2 separate regions of the Homo sapiens genome follow, and region 1 is linked to region 2. Evidence: promoter capture Hi-C in human tissues and cell types (Jung and others, 2019). All regions are on one chromosome and are shown on one strand. The core of a region is centred on a gene start or on the middle of the fragment in contact, and the rest is flanking DNA. Distances in the headings are between cores, read along the strand shown. Region 1 overlaps MPRIP (myosin phosphatase Rho interacting protein). Region 2 holds the start of COPS3 (COP9 signalosome subunit 3).

Region 1 (6,025 bases), core at 907-3,406, 160 kb after region 2:
TGGCTGCTCGAGCCAGGTCTAAGGAGAGGTCCTTCCTTTCTTTGGAATTCAGGACATTGGCTCCAGAGTTTTCTCAGGAAGGAACACAGCCCTTGGGGAGCACCAGCTGAGTTCCTAGGCGCCCCTGGAACCCACATCCTGGGAGGCACAACACAGGAGCAGGGCTCATGGGGGCTGTGTGGCTGGCTCAGGTCAAAGGTGGTCTCCCGGCTCTTCTTGCTGCAGCCAAACTGCTTCTAGGAGCCCGATCTAACAAATCACAAGCCCCTCTCTTTTGAGGAGGTGCTGGTGACTACCCCAAAGGCCATCAAGTGTAGAAAGGGCACTTAACTCTTGGCCCAAAGTCCCTCTGGGGCTGCAGACCTCCCCAGGGAGCAGCACTCTCCACAGACAGATATCCCCAAAGCCCAAGTCCTCTGAGGAAACTGGAAAGAGCCGCAGAAAAGGGGTCATGATCCCATGCAGGCCCAGAGTAAGCAAAGCCTCTGCCTGGCCTCTGTGCCACAACTCAGAGAAGTGTTAGGCCAACCACGCCTAGGGACTGACAATGGGCCTAGCAGGTACCCACCAGGCAGAACTCCCTTCCCCCTTCCCAGTCGTCACCGCCAGTCCTGGTGTACTCCACAGTCCTCATGGTTCAAAGGGCAGTTCCACAATCATCCTCCACACTGTAGCCTCCTGAAGCTGCATGGAACAGCCCCTAGGCTGGGCTGAGCCCTCATCCCAATGCCTGTCCTCAGGTGTCAGGTCTGATTCCAGGTCCTATCACCTCCTTGGGAAGGGAGCCATGATTCTGCACTCTTCCCCACCCTTCAGGTGTCCCACATGAAACCTGCATGCTACAACCTGGCAGACCCCAGAGAGGGTCCTGCAACCCCAGAGGGACTTTGGGCCAAGAGTTGGATGCCCATTCTACACCCGATGGCTTTTGGGGTGGTCCCCAGCACATCCTCAAAAGAGAGGCTTGTGATTTGTTAGATCAGGCTCCTAGAAGTAGTTTGGCTGCAGAAAGAAGGGCCGGGAGACCACCCCATGACCTGGGCTAGCCACACAGCCCCCGTGAGACTCCCAGGACCTTAGGCAGCTTTGGCCAGCCAGGGCTACCTAGGCTGGACCTACAGCACAGGCCAGGGAGACCAGCTCATGGGGCTTCCATCAGCCCAGGACAGGAGGAAGAGCTGGAGCCACAAACCACTGCTCTCCCAGCTGTTTCCCTCTGCAGAAGTTCTGAGATCTAAGGTAGACTCTAAGCAATCTGTTTTCAGAGCTCTCTAGCCAAGAAGAGCCTACCCTTGGAGTCAAGTCCTAGCTCTGCACTCACTAGCTCTGTGATTCTGGGCAAGTCGCAAATTGTGAGCCTCAGTTTCCCTAATGTAAAATGGTAGTAAATATAGGCCTCGTTTTGATTGTAAAGTGGTGTAGCTATTGTGGAAAACTTTAGCAGTTCCTCAAAAAATTACAGACAGTTTCCATATGACCCAACAAGTTGATTACTGGATATATACCCAAAAGAACAGAAGACAGGTACTCGAACATATACACAAATCATATCGTAGCAGCATAATTCGCGATAGCCAAAAGGTGGAAACAGCCCAAATGTCCATCAGTGGACAAATGGATAGACAAAATGCAATATTCATACAATGGAATATTATTTTATTCAGCCATAAAAAGAATGAAATCCTGACACATGCTCCAACATGAGCAAACCTTGGAAACATCACGCTAAGTGAATGAAGCCAGTCACAAAAGGACACACACTGTGTGACTCCATCTTGGTGAAATGTTCAGAAAAGGCCAACCCATAGAGAAAAAGCAGAGGAGTGGTTGCCAGGGGCTAGGGGAGGGGAATGAGAAGTGGCCTAATGTTTTGGCCTAGAGATTTCCCTTTGGGGTGATAATCTACCCCCTTCTGTCACAAGACTACAAACGATACTGCACAGCTGAAGCGGGACTCGAGCTCAGGCTCGGGATGGCACACCCGTGCCGCCTGCTGCTTCTCAGTGCACATCACCACTCTCCTACCAAGCAAGGGTGGTGGTCAGAAGACGATGGGTTCAACAACTTTCCTCGAATGTTTGGGAAGGAGGGAGGACAGTGTCGGGCATGTTCCGTCTTCTACCCTGTGGCAGAGAGGCAGGGCTCAGTGGACTGAGGAGCTCTGGGCATCATGGGCCACCGTCTTCTGCAAGGGGAGGGGGCACATCCTCTACTCAGAGACCATGGCCATCTACTTGTGCTAAGATGGCTGATAAGGGCTCTTGAAAACAATGGACCAAGCCGAAGGGTCAATCCAAAGGCAGCTGAGTACCGTGCAGATTCTCCCTGTGCCTCTCTGGCCCTTGCCTTGGGGCCCTGGGGAGCACCAGAGGCTGGTTTCCCAGGCCACATTCCAGGGGAGAGCAGGGTCTGCCCCTCTGCTGAGCCCCAGGCTGACAGCACCTGGCCCCAGACACTACCTGCAAAACATTTCTGACCCCTCTCCCCAGCTGCAGATGCATGCGGGGCAGGCCCTTTCCCACTGCCCACCAATACAGACTGGGGACTGGCAGGACGGAGGCCTCAGACCTGTGATTCTGGGAGTTCCGTGGGAGGCTTGGCTAGATGAGGCCAGCTGGGAACACCTGGTACACAGTGAAGAGGCCCATGGGTTCTACCCTCCTAGGCACAGCAGTGCTGGGAGCCTCAGAATGATTCAACAGGAACAGCCCCAGAACCATTCTTCATGAACATAGATCCGGCCAAGCCAACCCACAACTCAACTGCTCCAACAGCTCCCAGCCCAAGCTCTGCTCCCTGCACCAATTGCCCCACCTTGCCTCCTGGACCTACTTGCTGGCCTGGGAGACCCACGGTTACCCGCTGCACAGAGCAGCCTCCTTTATCACTGTCCTGCCGGAGAGGCCTGCCTGGCACATCTCCCCTCCTGGATCATTGTCCTGTGCTCCCTGAAGGGAGCCCCTGTGCAGAGGCCATGGCCCATCCACAGGTCTGCCCAACTGCTCTGCATACTAAGCCACAAGGTGCCTGATAAAACTCCTTGTATTTACTCTATACACCTAGGTCAGCACCTTCCAATATGTGCTTCAGTAAACATTTCTGAATGATGGAACAAGCCAACCCTGCTAGATTTATATTATAGATTTAATTATAATATAAATATTTGATTTACTTATATATGTAATAGATACGTTTTATTTATAAAATAGAAACCATCATTTTAACCAAAATCCCATATTCATTAAGGGTTAACAGGATGACACGTGTGCAAAGACCAGACAGTGGCAGGCTCTGCAGGGCATGAGGTAGAGAAGCTGTCTGGAAAGAGATGCAGGCCCCTGAGGAATGGCCTTTGCATGATCAGCACCTAGGCCACCAAGTCCATGGTGTTGGTCTGAAGCCACCACCCCAGCCTTGGGCCAATGACTCTGCTGCAACCAGCAGATGGTAAAGTTGTGAGATGATGCTGCATGACTCCATTTACATCAAGCGTCCAGGACAGGCCAATCGATAAAGATGGGAAGCAGGAGGGGAGGAGTGGCGGTGGCAGCTAAGGGATGCAGGGTTTGTTTGGGGGTTGATGAAAAATGCTCTGAAATTAGATTGTGTTGGTGGTTGTATAACCACGTGAATATCCTCAAAGACAATGACCTGTACACTTCAAACAAAACAAAACAGAACACTGCACAGATAACAGGGAGAAACCACAGGCTCAGCAGCAAGCAGGCCAGGCCTTCCAACAGGCCTTCATGGCTCCATCACGAGAAAGAGCTCGCCTCCCTGCCAACCCAGGCCTGGAAGGCCCTCTACACCCCACCTCTCCCTAACGTCTGGACGTGGAAACTCAGGCCCAGGCTTCCTAACTCCTAGCCCACCACAGCATGCCGCCTCCATCACAGAAGAAGCAGGAACCATGCAGTCAGGGCCAAAATCCCGAGGCCCTACCTTTCCTTCCCTCTACTGGAATGTGACAGTGGGTGTCACCACAGACGCAGAGCTACCGCTCCCATCCCAAGTAGGCCCTCTTCTAAGATTCAGCTCTGGCCCCAGAGACAGTGCATGCTTTCTGAGGCATTCGTGGATTAGCAGGAGGGGGCCTCCAAGATGTGCAGCATCTGCTAATGCCAGCAGCAACAATGCAGTGTGGGCCTCGCCCCAGCCTTGGTGCTGCAGTGCGTGGGCTGGGCCTTCTGCTACAAGTGACTTTGTGGGATGCTGAGGAAATGACCCGTTCAGGGCTTTCCCAGGGGCATAGTTAGAACCACTAAACTACTTTTTTTTTAACGGAGAAAATAAGAAAACAAGGACCTTTTTCACTTGCTGCCAAGACCAGGAAGTTCCTCCTCACACCTGCTACGCCAGGCTGGCCTGCTGGCTTCGGCCGCTGCCTGGGCAGCGAGATACCAGGGCCCCCGCCAAATGGCCAAGGGCCCTCTGCCAGAGGAGCTTCCCTTGGGAGCCCTCACCCAGTTAAGGCCCACCTTCCTCCTAAAACTGGTGGTGGGTGGGCGGGGGGTAGATGGGAAGAAGGTAGGAGAGGCATGGGAACTGGGGAAGAACAGCTTTTCATCCCCCTCACCCACCACAATGGTCAGCTAGCAGGATCCACCAACCAAGGGTGACACTACACCATATGCAACAATGAACTTGAAATGGAGCAGATACCTCAATGCAAGAACAAAGGCTATAAAATGCACAGAAGACCAAGGAAAAAAGCCCTGTAACACTGGATTTAGCAACCATTTCTTGGATATGACGCCAAAAGCACAAGCAACAAAAGAAAAAAAAAAGATAAACTAGACTTCATCAAAATTAAAAACCTTTGTACATCTAAGGACCAAGAGAGCGAAAAGGCAACCTAGGGAAGGGAAGGGAATACTTGCAAATCATATATCTGACAAAGTATTAGTATCTAGAATAAACAGCTCCTAAAACTCAACAACAAAAAACAATTAAAAATAGACAAAGGATGTGAATATACAAAGAAGATATACAAATGGCCAAGACACACATAAAAAGGTGCCTGACGTCATTAGTCATTAGAAAATGAAAGTCACCTAGCACTTCAGAAGGCCAAAGCAGGAGGATTGCTTGGGGCCAGAAGTTTGAGACCAACCTGGGCAAGATAGTGAGACCTCATCTCTAAAAATAAAAATTAAAAAATAAATAGCCAGATGTGGTGGTGTACTCTTATAGTCCCAGTTACTTGGGAGCAGGGAGGATCCCTTGAGCCCAGGAGTTCGAGGTTGCAGTGAGCTGTGATGGCACCACTGCACTCCAGTCTGGGCAACAGAGTGAGACCCTGTCTCTTAAGTAAAAAAAAAAAAAAAAAAAGAAAAGAAAAGAAAAGAAAATGCAAATCACATCAGCCACAATGAGATGCTAGTTCACATTCACTAGGGTAGAGGTAAGTTAAAAAACAGAAAACTGTCAGTGTTGGTGAGGTCATGGAGTAACTGGAACCGTGGTGCAGCCACTCTGGAAAGCAGTATGGAGCTTCTTCAAAAAATTAAACTGGACTTTATAGATTTGCTGTTTCATCCAGCAATTCCACTTGTAGGTATATACCCAGAGGAACTGAACACAGGGACTCGAACAGATATTTGTACACCCACGTACCATGGCAGCATTATTCACAATAGCCAACAGATGGAAGCAGCTCCAGTGTCCACCAATAGATAGATGAATAAACAAAATGTAGTATGTATATACACTGCCATATAATTCAGCCATAAAAAGGAAAGAAATTCTGGTATGTGCTATACTATGGATGAATCTTGAAAACACTATGCTAAGTGCAATAAGCCAGTCACAAAAGGATAGATACTGTATGATTCCACTTATGTGAAGCACCCAAAGTACTCAAATTCATAGAGAGTAGAATGGTGGTTGCCAGGGTGAGAACAGCTACTGGCAAATTTCTTTTCAAAAATTCTGTACCTGACCTATACCCCAGCTACCTTTCTCTGGCATTTCTGTCCCTGTCTTCATAGAAAACAGACCCTTGAGAGCTATACCACTAGTG
Region 2 (6,684 bases), core at 811-3,310:
AACTCTTCCTCTTTCTTCGTTGCTCAGTTTATGCCATTTCCTCAAGAAAGCCTTCCCTGTTTCTCCCAAGCCAGGTCAATCTCCTCTGTGACATGATTTTATAGAACCATGTTCCATTCCTTCAGACCACTAACTCCTTTTATCTAGGGTCTTCATGTGTTGTCTGCAGGAGAGAAGGACCGAAACTGTTTTGTTTTGTTTTGTTTTGTTTGAGTCAGATTCTTGCTCTGTCGCCCATGCTGGAGTGCAGTGGTGCCATCTCGGCTCACTGCAACCTCCACTTCCCGGGTTCAAGAGGTTTTCCCATCTCAGCCTCCCGAGTAGTTGGGACTACAGGTACCCATCACCAAGCCCAGCTAATTTTTGTAGTATTTTTAGTAGAGATGGCTTTTCACCATGTTGGCCAGGCTGGTGTCCAACCCCTGACCTCAAGTGATCCACTTGCTTCAGTCTCCCAAAGTGCTGGATTACAAGCGTGAGAGACTGCACCAGGCCCCAAGACTGTTTTTACTACCACTGTATTTCTAGTGCCTGGTACAACACATTGTAAGTGTCAGTAAACATATGTTGGATAAAATTTTAAAATGCATGTTTATTTTCTCAGTCCCTACTATGCAGCAAATCCTATGCTGGGCCCTAAAGGGGAACCAAGGTTAGTAAGAGAAATGCTTGACCTTAAGGAACTCCATGCCAGTTAGAAGCAATGGATCCGTAAACCAAAAGTATCTGAGACCAGTCTCAATCGAGAAAGTTTATATTGCCAAGGTGAAGGATGCGATGATAACACGGCCTCAGGAGCTCCTCAGGACATGTGCCCAAGGTGCGGGTACAGTTTGGTTTTATACATTTTAGGGAGACATGAGTCATCGATCAATACATGTAAGATGTACGTTGGTTAGGATCGGAAAGACGGGCTAACTCGGGGCAGTGGGGGGCTTCTACCTTATAGGTAGACTTAAAGATTTTTTGATTGGTAATTGGTTGAAAGAGTTATTATCTAAAGACCTGGAAGTAAATAGAAAGAAATATCTGGGTTATGATTATAAGGGGTTGTGGAGACCAAGGTTTTATCATGCAGATGAGGCTTCCAGGTAGCCTGCTATTCAGACAGAATAGATTGTAAATATTTCTTATCAGTCTTGAGTCTACCAGTCTTAAGGTCTCTGTGTTGATGTTTGTGAGGCATGTCTGACTACCACTTCCCATCATGGCCTGAACTAGTTTTTCAGGATAAATTGGAATGTCCTTGGCTTCAGATAGGGTCCACCAGTCAGTTGGGGGGCTTAGACTTTTATTTTTGGTTTACAGATATCACATGGACTATAGAGACACATTTCTGTAACAGAGTAGAAGTGCAACATGAGAAGAACAAAGTGCTTTAGGCGACAAGCGGAGGAGGGAGACATCAATCCCAGATGGGAAAAATCAATTCACTTTCTGTGTGTGGTGTTACTTATTTATTTATTTTTTGCAGGGAAGGGATCGATTCATTCAACGTACACCTTGAATGAATAACTATAGTTCTCCCTACGTCCTATGCACTGTCCTAAGTGTTTTACGTGGTTAAGGACACTAAGATTTTACAGATGGGGAAAACAATGCACACGACAGTCAAGTGACCCGCTCAACGTCACACAGCTACTAAGTGGTAGAAAAGGCAGTTGAACCCAGGCTGCTTGGCTCCAGAGTCTAATATCACGGGGAAAACCTCACGGGAGACGTGGCAACGAAGTTGTGCTTCATTGAAGTATCTGTCCAGGTGGAAAACCGCAGGGCCTCTCTAGCAAAATCCAGAACCAGAAAATACTTGCTTAATTATGAGTTTCCTTCCTTCTTTTGCCCACTATCCCCATTTAACCTGCGGAGGGATTTCAGAAGTGCAGTGAATAAAGATGCAGGGGACTATGGAACACTAATTTCCGGCTACGGCGAATTCAGGCTGTTTCCATGGAAACAGTAACGGGTGGGCAGCTAGGTATAGTCTCGCGGTGCTTGAACCAGCGGAAGTGACGTCGCCGCTCGCGAGGACCTCAGGTGGATCGCCGCGGCCCCTCCTCCCAGAGCGGCAGCCTTTTCCCGCGCGTGCTGCCTTCGCCGCTCGGGCCGCCCGGGGGAAAACATGGCGTCTGCCCTGGAGCAGTTCGTGAACAGTGTCCGACAGCTCTCAGCTCAAGGTAACGCCCTAGGCCGCCGGGCTGGGCATGGGCGGGTACCGGGAACTGGCCTGGATCCCCAGGCGCCAGCACGGACGGCTGGAACAGCCCTTTTAGTCCTGAGACTCTTCTCCGGGGCCGGGCTTGGGGTTGCGGCGTTTAGATCAGGGCAGGATCGAGCGCGGCCGAGTGTAGGCAGCCCCCTCGCGCTCCGCTGTCCTCGCCGGCCGGCCTCCCCTCCCTCGGGCCGCCGGGAGCCCCCTCCCCCCGGCCTGGGCCCCTTCCACCGGGCGCTTTGCTTGACAGTTTGGGGGCGTGACTTCCGCCAGGAGCCATCTCGGGCGACTATTGGTTCCTTCTGTCTCTCTTGCCTTCGGTGATTGGCGCACCGCCATGTCATCTTTGCCGCCGATCCGCAGCTTGCTGACTAGGCCGCCGGGAGCGGGCGGGAGGCGAGTCCGTTCTGGGTGTCTTGGCTCTATGGCTCGCCTCTGCCAGCTCCTCCGCTGCCAGGCGGCGCACGCTCGGGAACCTGTGCGCCTATTTTGGTCCTACAGAATGCTGCGGAAGCTCTCGCTCGTAGGACTCCATTTCTTCTTCTTTGTTTTTTTTTAGCCGAGGCTGGAGTGCAGTGGCGCGATCTCGGCTCACTGCAACCTCAGCCTCCCGGCTTCAAGCGATTCTCCTGTCTCAGCCTCCCGAGTAGCTGAGATTACAGGCGCCCGCCAGCTCACACGGCTTTTTTTTTTTTTGAGACGGAGTCTCACTGTCTCCCAGGCTGGAGTGCAGTGGCGCGGTCTCGGCTCACCTCAACCTTCGCCTTCGAGGTTCAAGCGATTCTCCTGTCTCAGCCTCCCGAGTAGCTGGGATTACAGGCGCCTGCCCGGCTAATTTTTGTATTTTTAGTAGAGACAGGGTTTCACCATGTTGGCCTGGCTGGTCTCGAACCTTGATCTCAGGTGATCCACTGGCCTCGGCCTCCCAAAGTGCTGGGATTACAGGCATGAGCCACCGCGGCCAGCCCACGCGGCTAATTTTTTCGTATTTTTAATAGAGATGGGGTTTTTACCATGTTGGCCAAGCTGGTTTCGAACTCCTCACCTGAAGTGATCCGCCCACCTCGGCCTCCCAAAGTGCTAGGATTACAGGCGTGAGCCACTGCGCCCGGCCAGGACTCCATTTCTAGGGGTAGAATTGTGATGATTTTACTCGCACTTTCCAGGTTGTTTGGTTCATTCATTGCGTATGAATGTACCGAATTCTGGACCTGAAATTCGAATGATTAGATGCTGGCTGTGAAGGCCCTTTTAACTATCCCGTGCTTCAGTTTCTTCGTCTGCAAAATAAGTCCCTAGTTTATGTAGAGTTGTGAAGATTCAATGAGAGAAACCATGTAAAAGCAGTTGGAACAGTGCCTGTCATAAGGGGTGCAATAAATATAGCTGCAAATTATTGTTACCGTCATTAATTGCAAAGTTCTAGGAGCTGCTTGACCTTGGACAAATAACCTTTAATCTCTGAGTCTTTTGCATCTCCATTGTAAAAATGGAGGGGTGCTTTTACCTCACTGGTGTAAGACAAATGGTCTGATATGGAGCTGCACTTAATAAGAATTCTTCCTCTTTTTCCTTTTTATTAATAGAAATGAGGTTCACAGGGAAGGCACAGGCTTGCCTTTTCTATGAATAAAGGAACCACTGGTTTGTTAATTTATTCGACAAATACTTAGTGTTCTCCTTCCTGGGGTGTAGTGTAGTTAGAAGCTTCAGGTTGAAATCCTGTCGCGGTCACTTCTTGGGTGAACCACTTAATTTCCCTGGGCCAATTTTCTTAATTACAAAACAGAACTAGGGCTGTTGTGGTCTTCAGGTTATAGGATGCTATAGGAACAGTCTGCTAGACAGAGATAAATATGGTAACTTTCATTGCTGTCGGCTACTGTGCCTCACACTCACTGGATAGGAAATCTTTGAGTTTCAGGCCAGGCGCAGTGGCTCACTCCTGTAATTCCAGCACTTTGGGAGGCCGAGGCGGGCGGATCATCTGAGGTCAGGAGTTCAAGACCACCCTGGCCAACATGGTGAAACCCTGTCTCTACTAAAAATGCAAAATTAGCCAGGCATGGTGGCGGGCGCCTGTAATCTCAGCTACTCGGGAGGCTGAGGCAGGAGAATGGCATGAACCTGGGAGGTGGAGCTTGCAGTGAGCCAAGATCGCGCCACTGCCCTCCAGTCTGGGTGACAGAGCAAGACTCCGTCTCAAAAAAAAAAAAAAGAAAAAAAAGAATTTTATTGGCCACATCTCTGGTTACACTGATTTCAAATGCACTCTGTGACACTTAAACTTTTTTTTTTTACTCTGCCCTTGGCCCTGCACTAATTAATTATCTGGTGATTTCATAGTGACCCAGCTTTTATTTCAGTCTCAACTGGGCACTGATTGTTAACTAGTAGAGAACTAATGGATTGCAATGCTTATTTCTGGGTGTTACAAATTATTGTTAATATATTTAGAGTAATGGTTTACAAAGGCAAATTATTCAACTAGAAGTTACTTCATACCTACCAGTGAGATCTGTAATACAATGATGATGAGTTGGTATTTCCCAGTTAAATCTGTGTGATCTCAAGAGGTGACACCTAATAAGATCACAGCTGTTTTATTCTTGTTTTGTAATGCATGTATAATAATGATACATTTCCTTTGCTTTCAGTAAAATGTATCAAATTGAAAAGTGTTAAATTATCAAAAGTACCTAGCTATAGTCACTTGTATTTTAAGCATTATACTATGTTGTATTCTTTTAGTAAGGAAAAGATTATGCAGTTGCTCTGTAGAAATAGAGAAGTTGGAAACTTGAGGTTAATGCCCATGGACTTAAATATATCCTCACTGTTACCAGAAAGACAGAGTGTGACCATGGTATCTGTCATGACAGTAATTGTCAAAATTGATGGGTCTACTTAAAGGTACCAATTCAGGCCTAATTTTTTTTTTCCCCCGAAACGGAGTCTTGCTCTGTTGCCCAGGCTGGAGTACAGTGGCGCAATCTCAGCTCACTGCAGCCTCCATCTCCCGGGTTCAAGGATTGTCCCAGGTTAAAGGATTCTCCCACCTCAGCCTCCCGAGTAGCTGGGATTACAGGTGTGTGCCACCACACCCAGCTAATTTTTGTATTTTTAGTGGAGACAGGGTTTCACCATGTTGGCCAGCCTGGTCTTGAACTCCTGACCTCGAGATATCTGCCCACCTTATCCTCCCAAAGTGCTGGGATTACAGGTGTGAGCCAGCCTGGTCTTGAACTCCTGACCTCGAGAGATCTGCCCACCTTATCCTCCCAAAGTGCTGGGATTACAGGTGTGAGCCACAGCACCCGGCTGAGGCCTAATTATTAATAGATTCTGTACCTTAGTTGTTAAAATGTAGCATTGCAGGCTGAGTGTGGTGGCTCATGCCTCTAATCCCAGCACTTTGGGAGGCCAAGGTGGGAGGATTGCTTGAGCCCAGGAGTTAGAGACCAGACTGGGCAACATAGTGAGACCCCTGTCTCTGCAAAAAACTTAAAAAATAAGATGGGCATGGTGACGTACACCTGTAGTTCCAGCTACTCGGGAGGCTAAGGTGGGAGGATTGCTTGAGCCCAGGAGATGGAGGCTGCGTTGAGCTGTGATCACACCACTGCACTGCAGCCTGAGCGACAGAATGAGACCCTGTCTCAAAAAACAAAACAAAACAAACATAGTATTGCAGTATAGGGGAAAAATAGATCAATTAGGAGATTAATTCAACAAGTAGCTGCTTGATGAACTGCTAAGCAGGTGATGTATTCTAGAGCTGGAGAAAGGGACAATCCCTCCACCTGAGTTTACTGAAATACCTAACCACTACAGTCCCATGCGAGGCAGAGAGGGCAGATACCCAGCTTAGCCATGGGGAAGGGAGCTGAGATGAGGGTCTAGAGACGCCACAAGTTGATTGCTGAATGCTGGATGAGGCTCAGTCAGGTAGCAGAGGATGTGGGGGAGAAGGACAGAGAACAGCATGTGTAGAAGCATAAAGAGGAGAGAAGATAGAATGTTGATTTTCTGAGCTTGCTGTGATCGAAGAGTAGGTGTGTGAGGGGAAGTAGCAGGAGATAAGGCTGGAAAGGTAGCAGGGACCAGTTATTGAAGGGCCTTAGTTCAGGCTGAGGCGTTTGCACTTCTTAAAGTCATTGGAATAACTTGATTGAATGCACAGTTTATAGAACAGACAGTACTAATATGGAGTGCGGGTTGGAGGAGAGAAAGATCACAGTAGGCAGACCATTTAGAAGATTTATGATGTAGGCTGGGCGCGGTGGATCATGAGGTCAGGAGTTCAAGACCAGCCTGGCCAAGAAGGTGAAACCCCCGTCTCTACTAAAAATACAAAAAAATTAGCCAGGTGCAGTGGCAGGCGCCTGTAATCCCAGCTATTTGGGAGGCTGAGGCAGGAGAATTGCTTGAACTTGGAGGGCGGAGGTTGTAGTGAACCGAGATTGCGCCACTGC

What was found. Contacts are between HindIII fragments. The study calls those that stand out against the background at their distance.
Region 1: a fragment that was not itself captured here is called in contact with the fragment with the promoter of COPS3 in region 2 in 1 of the 25 tissues and cell types used here (adrenal gland).

Annotation. Positions count from the first base shown.
Region 1 is chr17:17,113,195-17,119,219 of GRCh38, reverse strand. All of the region lies in intron 3 of MPRIP (myosin phosphatase Rho interacting protein), which reads right to left. Among named protein-coding and RNA genes, the nearest start is that of MPRIP, 74 kb to the right of the region's middle. The HindIII fragment of the contact is 5,901 bases long and covers 1-5,106 here.
Region 2 is chr17:17,276,622-17,283,305 of GRCh38, reverse strand. It overlaps COPS3 (COP9 signalosome subunit 3), which reads left to right and starts at 2,060. Exons shown (of 12, transcript NM_003653.4): 1 at 2,060-2,174. The coding sequence starts at 2,120. RefSeq lists enhancers at 1,863-1,962, 2,613-2,672 and a silencer at 2,183-2,422. The HindIII fragment of the contact is 6,625 bases long and covers 381-6,684 here.